Regions from separate parts of the Homo sapiens genome. Here region 2 is linked to region 1. The links are contacts of gene promoters, found by promoter capture Hi-C in human tissues and cell types (Jung and others, 2019). All regions are on one chromosome and are shown on one strand. Each heading gives the region's core, a stretch centred on a gene start or on the middle of the fragment in contact. The rest is flanking DNA. Distances are from core to core; before and after follow the strand shown.

Region 1 (6,805 bases), core at 1,579-4,078:
AATACTTAGAAGTGAATAATGTATTATAGTTCATAAAAAGTAATAACTTACCTAATGAAGTTTTAAAAGCAATTGTTTACGCTGTAAAAACACAATGTGTGTAGATTAATATTTTCCACAAAAGTTATCTGTAAAACATGACTAAGATTGTTAGATATGGTCTGAAAAGCACAGAAAGCAAGCCTGGACATGTTAATAGTTATCAAGAAGTTCCAAAAATTGTGAACTGACATTCTCATAAAATAGTATTTGAGTCAAGTTTTATACAAACGCTTCATTTTTTTAAAGCACAAAACTATCTGATCATGGTTGGCAAATCATGAAAAAACAAAAGCAAACCCAGCAGAATAGGTTCTAAATACTTAATTAAGAGTTATAGTTATTTATTTAAAAGAAACTGGTCGGGCGCAGTGACTCACACCTGTAATCCCAGCACTTTGGGAGGCCGAGGCAGGTGGATCATTTGAAGTCAGGAGTTCAAGACCAACCTGGCCAACATGGTGAAACCCCATCTCTACTAAAGATACAAAAAAAATTAGCCAGGTGTGGTGGCATGCGCCTGTAGTCCCAGCTACTTGGGAGGCTGAGGCAGGAGAATAGTTGAACCCAGGAGGCAGAGGTTGCAGTGAGCTGAGATCATGCCACTGCACTTCCGCCTGGGTGACAGAGCTAGACTCTGTCTCACAAAAAAACAAAAAGAAAAACAAAACAAAAAACCTGACCATTAAAAATGGCTTTATGAAAATATTATTTCATTTTGTAACAATGGGGTTGGGGAGTCTTAATAATTGTCTAACATGTAAAGTAGGAAGGGTATATCAAACTTTGCAAATATCACATTAACTCATAAAACTTTATTAAGGCTCTATTGAGAGGTGAGGCCAGCTGGACCTCCTGAGACAAGTGGGGACTTGGGGAACTTGCCTGTCTTACAAGAGGAGTGTAAAATGCACCAATCAGCGCTCTGTAAAAAGCACCAATCAGCACTCTGTAAAACACACTAATCAGCACTCTGTAAAACGCACCAATCAGCAAGATTTTAAAAGTAGCCAATCGCAGGGAGGACTGAAAAAAGGGCACTCTCATAGGACAGAAACAGAACACTGGAGAGGACAATAAGGGAATAAAAGCTGGCCACCCCAGCCAGCAGCAGCAACCCGCTCCAGTCCCCTTTCATGCTGTGGAAGCTTTGTCCTTTCACTCTTCACAATAAACCTTGCTATCGCTCACTCTGGGTCTGTGCCATCTTTAAGAGCTGTAACACTTACCACCAAGGTCTGCCGCTTCATTCTTGAAGTCACTGAGACCACTAATCTACCGGCAGGAACCAATTCCAGACACATTATTAAGGTAGGTAGATCTTCAATAGATCTACTCTTTTTTATTTTTATTTTTTTGGCAGTTTATAACCATGTACCAAGGATGCACAATTAAAAAAATAAAGCCAACTTTTACATTAAGATTTAACCAAAAATCATCAATAATACATCGTTTTAATGCTAGTAGAATCTTCTTCTGACATCAGTTCTATTAGCATAATTATAATGCCAATTAAAAAAATCTAGTGGGTCTCTTCATTTTAGTTTAGAGCTTGATTGGAAACATTCAGGAAAACATCCATGGCTTGCTTGCTACTTTCTCTTTACCTCTAGCACTATGCTTCTCCCCACCAGCCCTCCCTCCACATCCTCTGACTCAGAGACTATTTGAAGAGGACACCTGTTTTAAATGGATCCACAGGAAATACCTATGTTGCCTTTTCATAATCCGAACCTGCAACTGGTTGGCTGAAATGAAAATGTTGCCCACAGACTGATGCAACTTCAGTGTGACAACATTTACTGGAAGGCAGGAGGGACTCCAGTTTATATTTATTTTCCTTCCATTAAGCCCTGGTAGTGTAGTGTAAGAAAAAAGTAAGGGCAAAACCAGTTTAACAACCAGATGATTAGTATTAAATTACACGCAGGGGTTTTACATCCAAAATTGGAATTTTTTAAAGCTGAATGCAATCTTGTGGCAGAAAGTTATTTGAAAATCCTTTCTTTATAGCTTTTTATCTATAAACCTCTTGTCCAAAGTTCATATTCTAGCTGATGTTATATACTGATATGACATTATTCAATCTGTCATGGAAAAGTGCTGCGTAGCCTACCCATTGAAAGCAGAATTGAGAGAGTTTCCTAGTGATTGACAGTCGTTTGTCAACACTGAAAACCTTATTGCCCCAAAATACTGAAAGTCACTCGCGGCTGCCTGTGCTCGGGTTTACACCCCACGTTCACACCCCCACCGGATCCCTCCGCACGGGGCACCAGCTCTCGGCCAACTGCAACTACCCCAGGAAGCGTCACCGCGATTCCGGGGCGGGAACATTTGTGGACACTGGGGTCCACTCCTTCAGTCTAGGTTCCCCGCCCCCTCGCCCGGCCCGGCGCCCACTAGCCACAGGGCCCGCTTCCCCCTGGAGATCAGCGCGCACTTCCCGAGCCCTCGTAGCACTCAGAGGTCGCATCCACACCTGGGATGCCTAGGGGGCGCCTCCTGGCCGGGTGTCCCGGGACCCTGCGAACGCAGGAGCAGAATGACGAAGGTGACGAAAGAGATGACGACACGCCGCCTGCCAGGCCGCGGCCGGCAGTGGAGAGCGTCCGCAAACCGCGCCCGGCCAGTACAGGTCACCCGGGCGCTCGCGGCCGCGCCAGTCCCCGGGGGCGCGCGCCCCGCCCCCGCCCCCGCCCCCGCCCCGCCCCGCCCCGCGCCCGCGCCCGCGCCCGGGTTCCCACGGCGCCCGCCCCCGCGCGCCCGGCGCCTCCCTCACGCCCGCCCTCCTTGCCGCCCAGCCGGTCCAGGCCTCTGGCGAACATGGCGCTTGTCCCCTGCCAGGTGCTGCGGATGGCAATCCTGCTGTCTTACTGCTCTATCCTGTGTAACTACAAGGCCATCGAAATGCCCTCACACCAGACCTACGGAGGGAGCTGGAAATTCCTGACGTTCATTGATCTGGTAAGGCCGTCCCCTCCCCCTGCTCGCCCCGCACCCCGTGCCTGTGTGTGCGTGTGTGTGTGTGTGTGTGTGTGTGTGTGTGGATGCGCGAGCACCTGCGCACGTGCGCGCCTCCAGCATCCACCCGTGTCCTCGCCTCTTCCCCAGTGATTGCGTGTGAAGGCCTGGCTGCCCCCGCAGCGGCACCTTCTGAACCACTCACCGTTACCTGGTAGCTGGGTACCCTTACCTGGCAACTGGGGGACAAATGGAGGTGGGGCGCAGCCAGGTGGTGGGCTCTTTGGAGGGGGACACCGAACTGCTTCTAAGAGGTGACACGGGAAGAATCTTCAACAAAAGCATCGGACCTGATCCTGAATGGCCTGAGACCCATTCGCCCTCAAGGTGCTTTTCAGAGCACCCACCGTGGGATGAACTTGTTGCAACTGAAGGAAACTGGGTATTGTCTAGTGATTTGGAACTTCACCTGAAAGAACCAAATCCTTCTCATAAGGGAGAGAAAGCACCTAATAAAGTTGTCTTCTTTGCATCTGTTTTTTTCCCCCATTGTCAATAATTTACTTTCAACCTTTACCCCGTACATATTAGGAGACAGAGATGTTCAAAGTGCATTTCCAAGGTGACTGTACACACTTCTCTGTCTTCCCATGTACAAATTTACAGTAGTTTGCATAAGCAGCTCCTCTGTTGGCACAATATGATAATCTTGACAGGTGCAGGTTATTATTAGTATATCATTTTGAAAGTTTTTCTATTTCTGGCACTAAAAGGCCCTCTTCAACCTCCCTGGAGAACAGAACATGGGCATAAGGCCCAATAATGAACTCATGGATGGACCTAGGAATTTCAGGGTAAAGGTGACTAAGACACACGCTAAAAGATTATTAGGAAGAGGCTTAAAACAAAAGCAATGAAGTTCTAAAGCACTCAGAGAAATTGTAGAACCAATTCCTGGGACTCCCTGAACTGTTTATCCAAGACTATACAGTTGGTTGGCTACACCAGCAAGATTATAATCTCTTGTTGACCCTCCATTCTGATGAAGAGAACATGATACCTGTTTTAAAAATTTCCAAAGGCTTAGGATGCCTCAAAGAAATGCAGAGAGGCTTTTGGTTTAAAAATAACACCTTATATTTGCATTATATTAGATACTTTCAGAGTGGAATTTCAATTCTGTTGCCCAGCAGTCTCCAAACTGTGCACATACCCTTAGGCCCACAAGACTTCACAGGGTATAGAATGTTGCAAGGGTTTTAATTTTCAGATCCTCATCTTCCAACTCTGCTTGAAACTAATTTCCCTCTGAACATGCGTGATGCCTGCCAGTTCTCCTTTCATTCTCCCCATTCATCCAAGTGAGGAGCCCGTGACAAGACTCTGAGGTGTGCTTTTCTGTCTGTTCCTTTTAGCTTCCAGAAGATAGATGGTTGTCACCAGGGCTATCTTTATATTTGATTGAACAACAATGTCGGAGTTGCCTTGACAGAAAGTCTTATTGGGTTGATTGGCTTGTCAATGAGGATTGGCTTTGCCAATTATGTTGTGTAGCAGACATTTTCTGTATACTGAATGAGCTAAATCTGCAACCCTGAGGTTCTGATGCATATGTATATGAAGCAAGCATACCACCCATAGAGCGCCAGAAAGATGTCCCTTTTTCAAGTGTTTACACTTAACTATGTTAAGGATGTTGAGATGTTATTTAAAAATATGTGCATAGATTTTCAGAATTCTTTGAGGGGCTATGTGAGCAAAACTCCTTTTGGGACACTGCCTTATCCCATTCCTAAGTCAGATCTTACTTAGAGCTGGCCTATTTGAATGTTGCTAAAGAGCAGTGCTGGGCAAGAATACAGAGATGCTGTGGGAGCCATAGGTTCTAGAAACAGCCCTCAGCATCACTCTTGCAGTAGATGCTGTGTTGTGGGAGCAAGGCAGGGGTCAGCAGGTGAACAGAGGTAGAAATTGAGGGTGTTGGTTAACCCAAGAGATGCCTGCTTTTCATAATTAGCATTGCTTACTGTGCATTGAAAAACAAGGCTCAGAAGAAATGATATACCTCTCATAACCTTTGTGTGACATGAAACCATAGTAGAGTCAGCTTGATATGCTGTCATATAATTTATCTTTTAGCATTCAATGATTGGACTTGCCTGTTTTAAATACTAATCACCATACAGGACTTTTTCTATCCCAGAAGTCAGACAGTAGATTCAAATGTGAAACATTTACTTTGCTTCATATTTAGCTTCAGATTGTATAGGACCTTTAGCCAGCGTTGTAATTTTTTACTCTGTGGCTCCTGATTGAAACATAATAATTATCTTTAACAAAGAGTGCCTGTGAGAAAGTATGTCTGAGATATATTCATAAAAACATTCATGCAAAGTGTTATTCTTTTTATTATTTGAGATTTAGAATCCTTAGAGCTTAAGCATTGTACAGCTGTTAAAACAACCAACCTGTCAATCCTCAGTAATGGCATGAAATGATTAGGCTACTATAATTTAGCCATTTTACTTTTCACTTTTAATGTTAAAAAGACCGTAAACTTTATTACCTAGTGCCTTGTACAATATTAATGAGTCTAAGTTTATTGGAGTAATTTTGCAAGAGTTTAACTTTTTAAAATTGTAATGTGAAGGCCCTTTTTTCTAGCCAACTTGGATTGCAGGAATCATTTATCCTGATAGCCACAGTTGGATTCCATATTCCATGGCTTCAGTTTACCAGGATCTGAGTCAGGAATCTCAGGCTCTATGCATCCAGGAGCAGATGATTATGTGGCAGTGGCCATTCTGGCTGTATTCATTTCTCTCCTTGGGTATGAGGGTCATTCCAGTAGATTCAGAGCTTATGGTCAAAAACTGAAATACACATTGTTGCTACCAGTAATCTTATACTGTTATTCTCCAATGGTTTCTTTTCCTAGTATTGAGAAACTGTAAGAGAACTAAGGTGTTTTTGGAAAATTGAAGTTAGTAAATGGAAAAAGAACACTGTCTTGGTGTGGTAGGCAGAATAATGGGCCTCCAAAGATGTTTACATTCTCATGCCAGGAACCTGTGAATACATTAGGTTACATGGCAAAGGGAAATTAAAGTTGCAGATGGAATTAAGATTGCAAATCAATTGACCTTAAAATAGGGTAATTATCCTGAGTTATCCCATTGGGCCCAATGTAATTACAAGGGTCCTTAAAAGGAATAGGGAAACAGAAGACAAGAGCTTGTTGGAGGAAGATGTGACTGGAAGAAAGTCAGAGAGAGATACGACAATGCTGGGTTTGAAGATGGAGGATGGAGCCAGGAGACAAGGGGTGTGAGAGGTGTCTAGAAGCTGGAGAGGACAAAAAAATGGTTTTCCTCCTAGAGTTTCCAGGAACACATACCTGCTGACAGCTTAATGGTAGTGTATTTTGGACTTCTGACCTCCAGAATTGTAAAATAATAAATTTGTGTCATTTAAGCCATTCAATTGATAGTAATTGGTTACCACAGTAATAGAAAACTAGTATACTTGGCTTTAAAGCCTCTGACTTAGAAAAAAAACTTAACTCTTTTTGTACTTATATGAAATAAATGCAGTGACTCAGCTAGCCCTTTATGTATAGTAGATAACTGGTTAATTTTAGCTTTAACAAAAATGCAAGTTTTTTCCTACTTCATCCATGAAATTATGTGGAGGAGACATACATATGTGTAACAGTGGGCAATATGAGGATTTGTAAAGACTGGACTGTCAAGCGTGTCTGTGTGAAGAGACCACCAAACAGGCTTTGTGTGAGCAATAAAGC
Region 2 (7,770 bases), core at 2,138-4,637, 660 kb before region 1:
TCGGATAATTAAATATAAATAGAAGTTGTTAGTTTCTTCTCACACCCTGGTGGATCACCTAGAGCACCCCCTGGTTGTGTGTACCCATTTCAAGACCACTTTTTTTTCCAGATCTAATTTCGTACATCGACAGTCTGTCTGATTGCAACCTAACTTTTCGAAATTATCCTTCACTGTATTTATATTTAAATCCTCCACTATCTTCAGCAATTTGTATTGTCCATATATCCTCCTGTGTACCTTGTTTTCATAGTTCTATACCTGAACTAGTTTTCTAAAGTGTATGTCATGACCCCTAAACATATATTCTGTGAAGATAAGAGATTTAATAACACAGAACAGGTGTCAAATTGTCATATAAGTTCAGGAAGTACGTTATTGTACAAACTGAAGCAGATTTTTTTATCAGAACGTCTCAGTTTCTTTAGTGTAATAATATGAATTGTGAATCTTCAAAACAGAGCAAAAGCACACAGTTGCCTAGCTTTCTGAAAGAAGCTAGAACCTCAGGACACACATTTGAAAATATTGGCTTAGAATTCCCATTCTGTCTCTTTATTTCAGGTCCCCAAATTTTATTGTTGATGATGTAGTTGGTGAGGTGGATTAATGAATATATGTATTTGTGTTTTTAGTTTTCACCTGAGTGCTGGAGAGGACAAGATTAAAGTCAAGAGAAGCCTTGAGGATGAGCCAAGGTAACAGGACAAAGTATTGTAAAGAGTATAACATTCTTTCTCTTGCTCACTACTTTATCTGGTAGAGAAATGAAAACAATTAGATAGGAAAGAAAAACTTAATCACATAGCACAGTTATTTCTTTAGCACTGCTGTACACTACTTTTTTCTTGTAGTTAAAACTGTAATGTAACAGACTGGGTAGTAATGTATATCCAATGAAAAATAATTGAGAAATAGGGCATTTAAAATGGATGGATTATTATTTTTAGTATTTCCAGTTTATTTATCATAACCCATTGCCTCTTACTTGAAATTGCAAAGGTACCTTCAAAGAAAATAGCTTTAAATAAAGTGTTTATATATGATAACATCTAATAATATGGATAATAGATGCCTAAATGTTTTCAGCATTTAAAGCTATTAGTTAATTTTCTGAAGTCTCCCTTTTAATATTTATATCAGGATCATGCCTTAATCATGCAGGTAATTTAATGGATATGTCCAGCATATATGACCAGTTGGCATGTAAGGACCAAATGTTCAGAGTACTGTAAAACAAACAAAAAAACCCTAAATTTCCAAATGGAATAAATTTAGTTGTATTTAGGTTATTCAGGTCATGTATTGCATCTCTGTAGATTTTTTTTTTTTTTTTTTTGAGACAGAGTCTCACTTTGTCACCCGGGCTGGAGTGCAGTGGTGTGACCATCACTCACTGCAGCCTTGAACTCCTAGGCTCAAATGATCCTCCTGCCTTAGCCTCCTGAGTAGCTGGGGCTACACACATGTGCTAGCATACCTGGCTAATTTTTAAAATACTATTTTTGTAGAGACTGGGTCTTGCTATGTTGCTCAGGCTCATCTCAAACTCCTGGCCTCAAGTAAACCTCCTGTCTCAGCCCCCCCCAGAGTGCTGGGATTACATGTACAGGCGTGAGATGTCATATCTGGCCTCCATACAATTTTTTAAAAATTTGTTGTGAAGCAAAAGTTTCTATAAGTCTTGCTGGATCTCAATAGACTGAATTAAATCTTATGGATATACAGCCCTGATGACGGAGCTTGCTTCTTTTCAGGTGATATCTTCTTACTATGAAAAGATAAAATTTCATATGAGAATTGACCAGAGAGCTTTTTTTTTCTTTTCAACACTAGAAAAACAAATGTTTTGAAAGTTATATTGAAAGATGTCATTTTTGTATACATAGTAAATGGACTGGATTGAGCCATGTGATTAGGGAAACTTGTTTTTATTTTCTGGTATTATAATTTTTTCTTTATGATATGAAAACACAGTAGTATATTTCAGTACTGTATTCTTGAAGGTGACAGAACTCTTCTCCACTATTTAACCAAATAATTTTTTTCAATCCTTTCTGTTAGGTCATATTGCATCTTCAGTAATGGATCCAGCAGCAATCAGGATCCCTTTGCTGGACACTTTGTGTAGCAACTGGGACAGCCCTGGGTTTGGTAGATATAGCCAATGGTATACCTTCTTCAGGCAGTCAGCGTCCGCTTTTTAGTGTACTTACTGTGGTTCTTCTACTACCTGGTGATACTAAAATCAGCCATCGTTAGTACATGTCAGCACCTCAGAAACTCTTCTTGAAGGACATTTAAATTCATGGGATTTCAGTTTCCTGGTCTTCAAAGCAATGAGTAATTTTACAGAAAATTATAGGGAGAATGAACTGAGACAGTGTATATAGCAAAATCCACATATTTAGGGGCTTTTTGGTATGAACTCTTGCCATTATTTAATATTTATGTTTATAGCCTTTCTTGTCTCTTTTTTCTATTCTCTATGGCTCTTACCCTCATTGGTGAGGCTTTATAGTCTCAGTTTTTGTCAAAACCACAGTCTACTACTTTTACATACATTGTTTTTTAAAAAAACTTTTCCTTTCAATTTGATTGTATCACTTAACACAGACCATAGCTTCAGATAATGCTGTCATACTCTATTGCCTAGACAGACAGGAAACCAAAGCCACAGAGAGGTTTTTTTCAAATAAAGAATGGCTGATGGTAACAACAGATAGAATGTAACTTTGTAGAACCATAAAATAGTTTCAGTTTTCAGGATGAGAGAGGAAAACACACAGATAAGACCTGTGAAAATGTATGGCTATTCCTGACTTGTTGGGTTTGGGTATTCAATATCACCCACAATACTTTGGGCTAATTATGTTCTCAGTATTCAAGACAAGTAAAAGGTCACATTCCCAGCTGTAAGTTCTCACCAACTGGAGTGGCGAAGCTTGTCTTTAAACAATGACTTAATCCAGGGATACTTTTTCATGGGCCATTTTAAAAATTGTTAAGCTATCATAGTCACATCTATGTTCACAGCTATCATTATATTCATTATGTTTGCCTCATCCTGAAATATGGCTTGTATGCGAATGGTAAGCAGTAGATCATTTTAGAGAGAGCTTTTCAGAGTTAATTATGAGAAGAGTAGAGCACCTATTCCTTGAAATTAGCACAGATATTTAGGAAAGAAAACTTGAGCTATTCTTTAATTTCACCTAGCCTTGAATAGCAAATATTTCACATATTCCTTCTTATTTTTTAACACCACAAATAAATTACTACTATAATACTTATTAATATTCATAGTTTCATAAATAAAATGTCACTGCCTCTCCACTAGACATTCCATAACTAGTTTAAAAACAATACTACCACTTTGTCTTTGGCGTGAAGACAGTAACTGATCTCAATAATATAACGTCTTATCTTATTCATTTCTCCTCTGAATATGAAGAAGAAACAATTTTTTTGTGAATCCAGAGCTTTCACATATAAGCAAAAGAAATTCTCCTCTACCTGACAAAATAATGTTACTTACTTTTACCTCAGTGTTAAATTAATAGTTTTGATTTCTGCTTTTGACTATAGCTGTGATTGTAGTGGAACAGAAAATTATATTACTTTAAATTGTAGAACCAAAAGTTTTTAACAGGGCTTTGGGGATACATTTCTTTGCTTCCCATAGAGGTATTTCCTTTTTAAAGACCTTCAAAGTCAACCATTCTATAACCTTCTTAAGTAATATGCTGACCAATCACAGAGTCGATTTTAAGTATTTATTTTGTGAAACTTTTTACCATAAAAAGTATTTGCAAATGCCTCATGGAGATAGAAAATCATTTGTTGCTATTCTGAAGAAATTATATCACATTCATGAATAGTAACACTTTTATAGTGTTAGTAAATATAAATAGTTAATTTCTAATAGTTAGAAATGGTAATTTCAAAAGATAAATGGTCAGTTGAAATCATAGTTTTATTAAAAAAAATTAATTTGGGGCCACAAAGAAAAAATGTAGAATTAACCACAGGAATGCTGTTTTCTTGTGTTTATGCTTTAAATGACTATATAATGTATTACTATAAATATTAAATATTAAAATATTTCTGAAAAGAAATGGAGTTATTTGACAGAATTATACAAGCAATAGCCTATAGAATCTATTAATATTGGAATATTTTTAACATTATAATTTACACAGCAGCAGAGAAAGTCTGTGAGCACCTTGGCTAATCTCTTCAGTCTCAACAGGTGATGGTCATCCCTCTACATCCAAATACTCTGTTTCTCCTACCAAATGACAAGCAACCAATGAACAACAACAACAGTTCTATCCGAAATGTTTCCCTAGGTTGGTGCTTTGGGCCCTTCTAGTTTACAATGCTACCAACAATACTAATTTGGAAGGAAAAATCATTCAGCAGAAGCTCCTAAAAAATAATGAGTCCTTGGATGAAGGCTTGAGGCTACATACAGTGAATGTGAGACAACTGGGTAAGTGACTAATTTTTTTATAATATGCATTTTATACAACTGTATATTCAGGTTTACTTGAAACAACAGCAGAAATTTTCTTTATGCGCTATTTGTTTATGTAAGTTTTTTTTCTGATGGTGAAGTTCAGTAACAAATGAATGACATAGCAGAAAAAAAAAATCAGCTCAGTGTCTGTGAATCCAAGGGAATGAAGGAGGTAGATGAAAGTTTATATTTTACTTTAGGAACATATTTTGAAAATACTAACAATATGAACAAAATGCCAGAATAATCTTGATCATCACTGTTGTCAACTTTAGGGAAAAAAAAGAGTGTGTAGATGTGAATGTGGGAACTCTAATGAGATAAATCTTATAGAAGGAGATTTCCTGTTTTAAAACATCTCCTGCTGGGCATGGTGGCTCATGCCTATAATCCCAGCACTTTGGGAGGCCAAGGTGGAGAATAACTTGAGCCCAGGAATTCGAGACTAGCCTGGGCTACACAGGGAGACTGTCTCTACGAAAGATTAAGAAATTAGTTGGGTGTTGTGCTGTGCACCTGTAATCTCAGTTACTAGGCGGGGCTGAGGCAGGAGGATTACCTGAGCTTGGGAGGTCAAGGCTGCAGTGAGCCATGTTCATGCCACTGCACTCCAGCCTGGGCAGCAGAATGAGACCCTGTCTCAAAAAAACAAACAGAAAACGTCTCCTTCTCTCATGTTCCCTGTCTCTATTAGTGATACCACTGTCTTCACAGGACTAGGTCATGAATGTAGGGATTCTGTTGGACCTAAAATCAAGTTTCTCCTGGAGATCGTTCACATCCTAAGCTCTAGCCACACATATGGCACGGCTTGTACTTCCACAAAGAGGCTGTGCTGCTTCCTTTAGATACCCTTTCTATATCTTTGCACACTGTTCTTCTCCACTCCCACCGGCAACCTCATTATCACCTATGTATTTTTAAAGACAGCTCCTAAGTCAGCTCTTCTTTGGAACCTTTTCTGAAATAAAGTATAGACATCACTGCCTTTGAGCCTCTACTTCATGCTGTCCAGATGCCTAGAGCATCATATGCATCAGAAGACCATAGTACTTAGAAGACTAGATATATTTATGTTCACATATATATATATGTATATATTCTGTAAACAATAATCTCTGACTTAAGATCATATTTTCTTTTTTCTTTAACTCTTACTTCCCACATATTTCCAGAACCCAGCACATTCCCTGGAACTGGAACACTTGTTGAATAGACAAATGAATGAGTCTGCATGAGAATATTTTAGGAAATCAAATGTTCACAAATATGGATAACAAAAAGCAATTGTTTTAATGTTATTCTATGATTGCAATTATACTGTGATTAGGTACATTAGTAGAGATCAAAAGAAAAGAAAACTTTGACCCTTCGCCTTCTCTACACTCAGGAGGTTGAATTGAGGGAGGCAAGTGTTCCTCAGCCTTGAAGAGGGCGATTGCGACCAAGGCCATAATCACAGTCTAGTAAAGAGGCAGGCATCTCCACTTCTGTGAGGAGCCACCCATCTCTATTGGGTGGATGTACACCGTTACAAAGAACTCATAGAGATGGATGAATGCAAATAATAATACTAATCATGGTAATAAACCATTTCTGAGTCTCTATGGGAAAATACTTCTTAACAAATGGGGCTTTTTGGAGGGAGGGAGAATGCAAGCTGCTACCCTTTCACGTATAGGAGTCTTCACAAAGAAGGAGTCTGACAAATGGTAGTTTATCTATGACTGGAGAACCCTAGGAGGACCAGCACTGGCTCTGTCCTCATAGGCTGTGAAAGCCCAGCACCACTCTGTCCATATATTTAGACATTTAATTTATACCATTTAATTTAAATTATCCGTTTTATTGTTTTTCTGCAAATGAATCTGTGGATAAGCGCTTCTACCAATGGAAAAATAAAAGGCTAAAACCTAACAGTTTTAAAGTTCACAGTATACATGGGAAAGTTATTTGAATTTTCAGTTGGTGATGACAGTACTTGTTCCCAGAAAACTGATATAACTCACTAATGCTCAGTACTGAAATACAAGAGTTTATTGTTGTTGTTGACGTATTGCTGTTACTTTGATATCCTTTAAAATGTAGAATCTGAATCATTGATGTCATGAGGCTTACTTAGAGAGTCGTCAAACAAAAAGTCAGATGATGTGAGGATAAAGAAGTCTGAGAGTTTGTTGGTTTGCAGGTGACTTCCTGTGTCCCCCTTAGTTAGCTTCCAGGCAGGAGAGGCTATCAGAGCAGCTGGAACATTTTCTATAAAATAGCCACACAACTCAAAGAAGACACTATTGAGGCATCATTTCTAGGCTTTCCCCTTTGAAAAAAATCAAATTACATTTTGAATTTTTCAGGATTGTTTTCCTTCTCTGTAGGGTTTATTTCTTTGAATAAAACTAGTATCTGCTAATGATTAGAATGATAATGTATGTTTCATGTTTATACTTACATAACTGTGTTTTTTACTTAAGGTTTTGTCCAATGTAATGATTTTTGGATTTGAAGTGTATTAAATGTTAATGTTTTTTCTAACTTCTAATTTTTTTTTTTACAAATTCTGAAGATAAACACTAATATTTTGGTATTACATTAAAGAAATACCTAATTACCAGCATTGTCATTTTGCTTTCATCCTGCATCTCTAATCTCTAACTTTAAAAAATAGGTGAATATTTCTCATGCTGGTTCTTATGTTCATATAGGTCATTGTCTTGCCATGGAGGAACCCAAAGGCTACTACTGGCCATCTATCCAACCTTCTGAATACGTTCTTCCTTGTCCAGACAAGCCTGGCTTTTCTGCTTCTCGGATATGGTAATATTTTCACTGACTCTTGCCAGCAAAGCTACATGTTATCAGCCTTCCCAGGGTTATACGTGCAGCACGGTAGTTCTTAGGCATTATATTGATTGCAAAGAAGGGCAGGAATCTCTGTGTATGCCTGTATCATTCACTCCTGGGGAATAAAGATAACATAAGTGGATGACTCAGAAAGGCAGTGTTTTCCTCCCAGCCACATGCTAATCAAGCCCTTTCACAGAAAAACTGAAGAGTTTAGAAGCCAGTGGGTAGCACCAGAGCAAAGTACCTTGTATGTGGATGAACCTAGCCTACCCTTGGAACATGCGTCTGGAATTCCGAAACTTTTTAACTATTTTGACTGATTATTGCTGGAATGGGGAGAGGAGGCAAAGAGGAAATGAAGACAAGATCCAGATTGGGATAGTCTGCTGATGGAAACTGTCAGG

The links. The method cuts DNA at HindIII sites, captures the fragments that hold promoters and counts their contacts. A contact is called where the count stands out against the background at its distance.
Region 2: a fragment that was not itself captured here is called in contact with the fragment with the promoter of AIG1 in region 1 in 1 of the 25 tissues and cell types used here (mesenchymal stem cells).

Annotation. Positions count from the first base shown.
Region 1 is chr6:143,058,061-143,064,865 of GRCh38, forward strand. AIG1 (androgen induced 1) reads left to right here and starts at 2,829. Exons shown (of 6, transcript NM_016108.4): 1 at 2,829-3,006. The coding sequence starts at 2,866. RefSeq lists enhancers at 1,825-2,763, 2,589-2,718, 3,319-3,368 and silencers at 2,719-2,808, 3,059-3,128. The HindIII fragment of the contact is 7,626 bases long and covers 1-6,805 here.
Region 2 is chr6:142,393,261-142,401,030 of GRCh38, forward strand. ADGRG6 (adhesion G protein-coupled receptor G6) reads left to right here. Exons shown (of 25, transcript NM_198569.3): 9 at 636-698; 10 at 4,353-4,495; 11 at 7,225-7,336. Among named protein-coding and RNA genes, the nearest start is that of ADGRG6, 95 kb to the left of the region's middle. The HindIII fragment of the contact is 4,789 bases long and covers 994-5,782 here.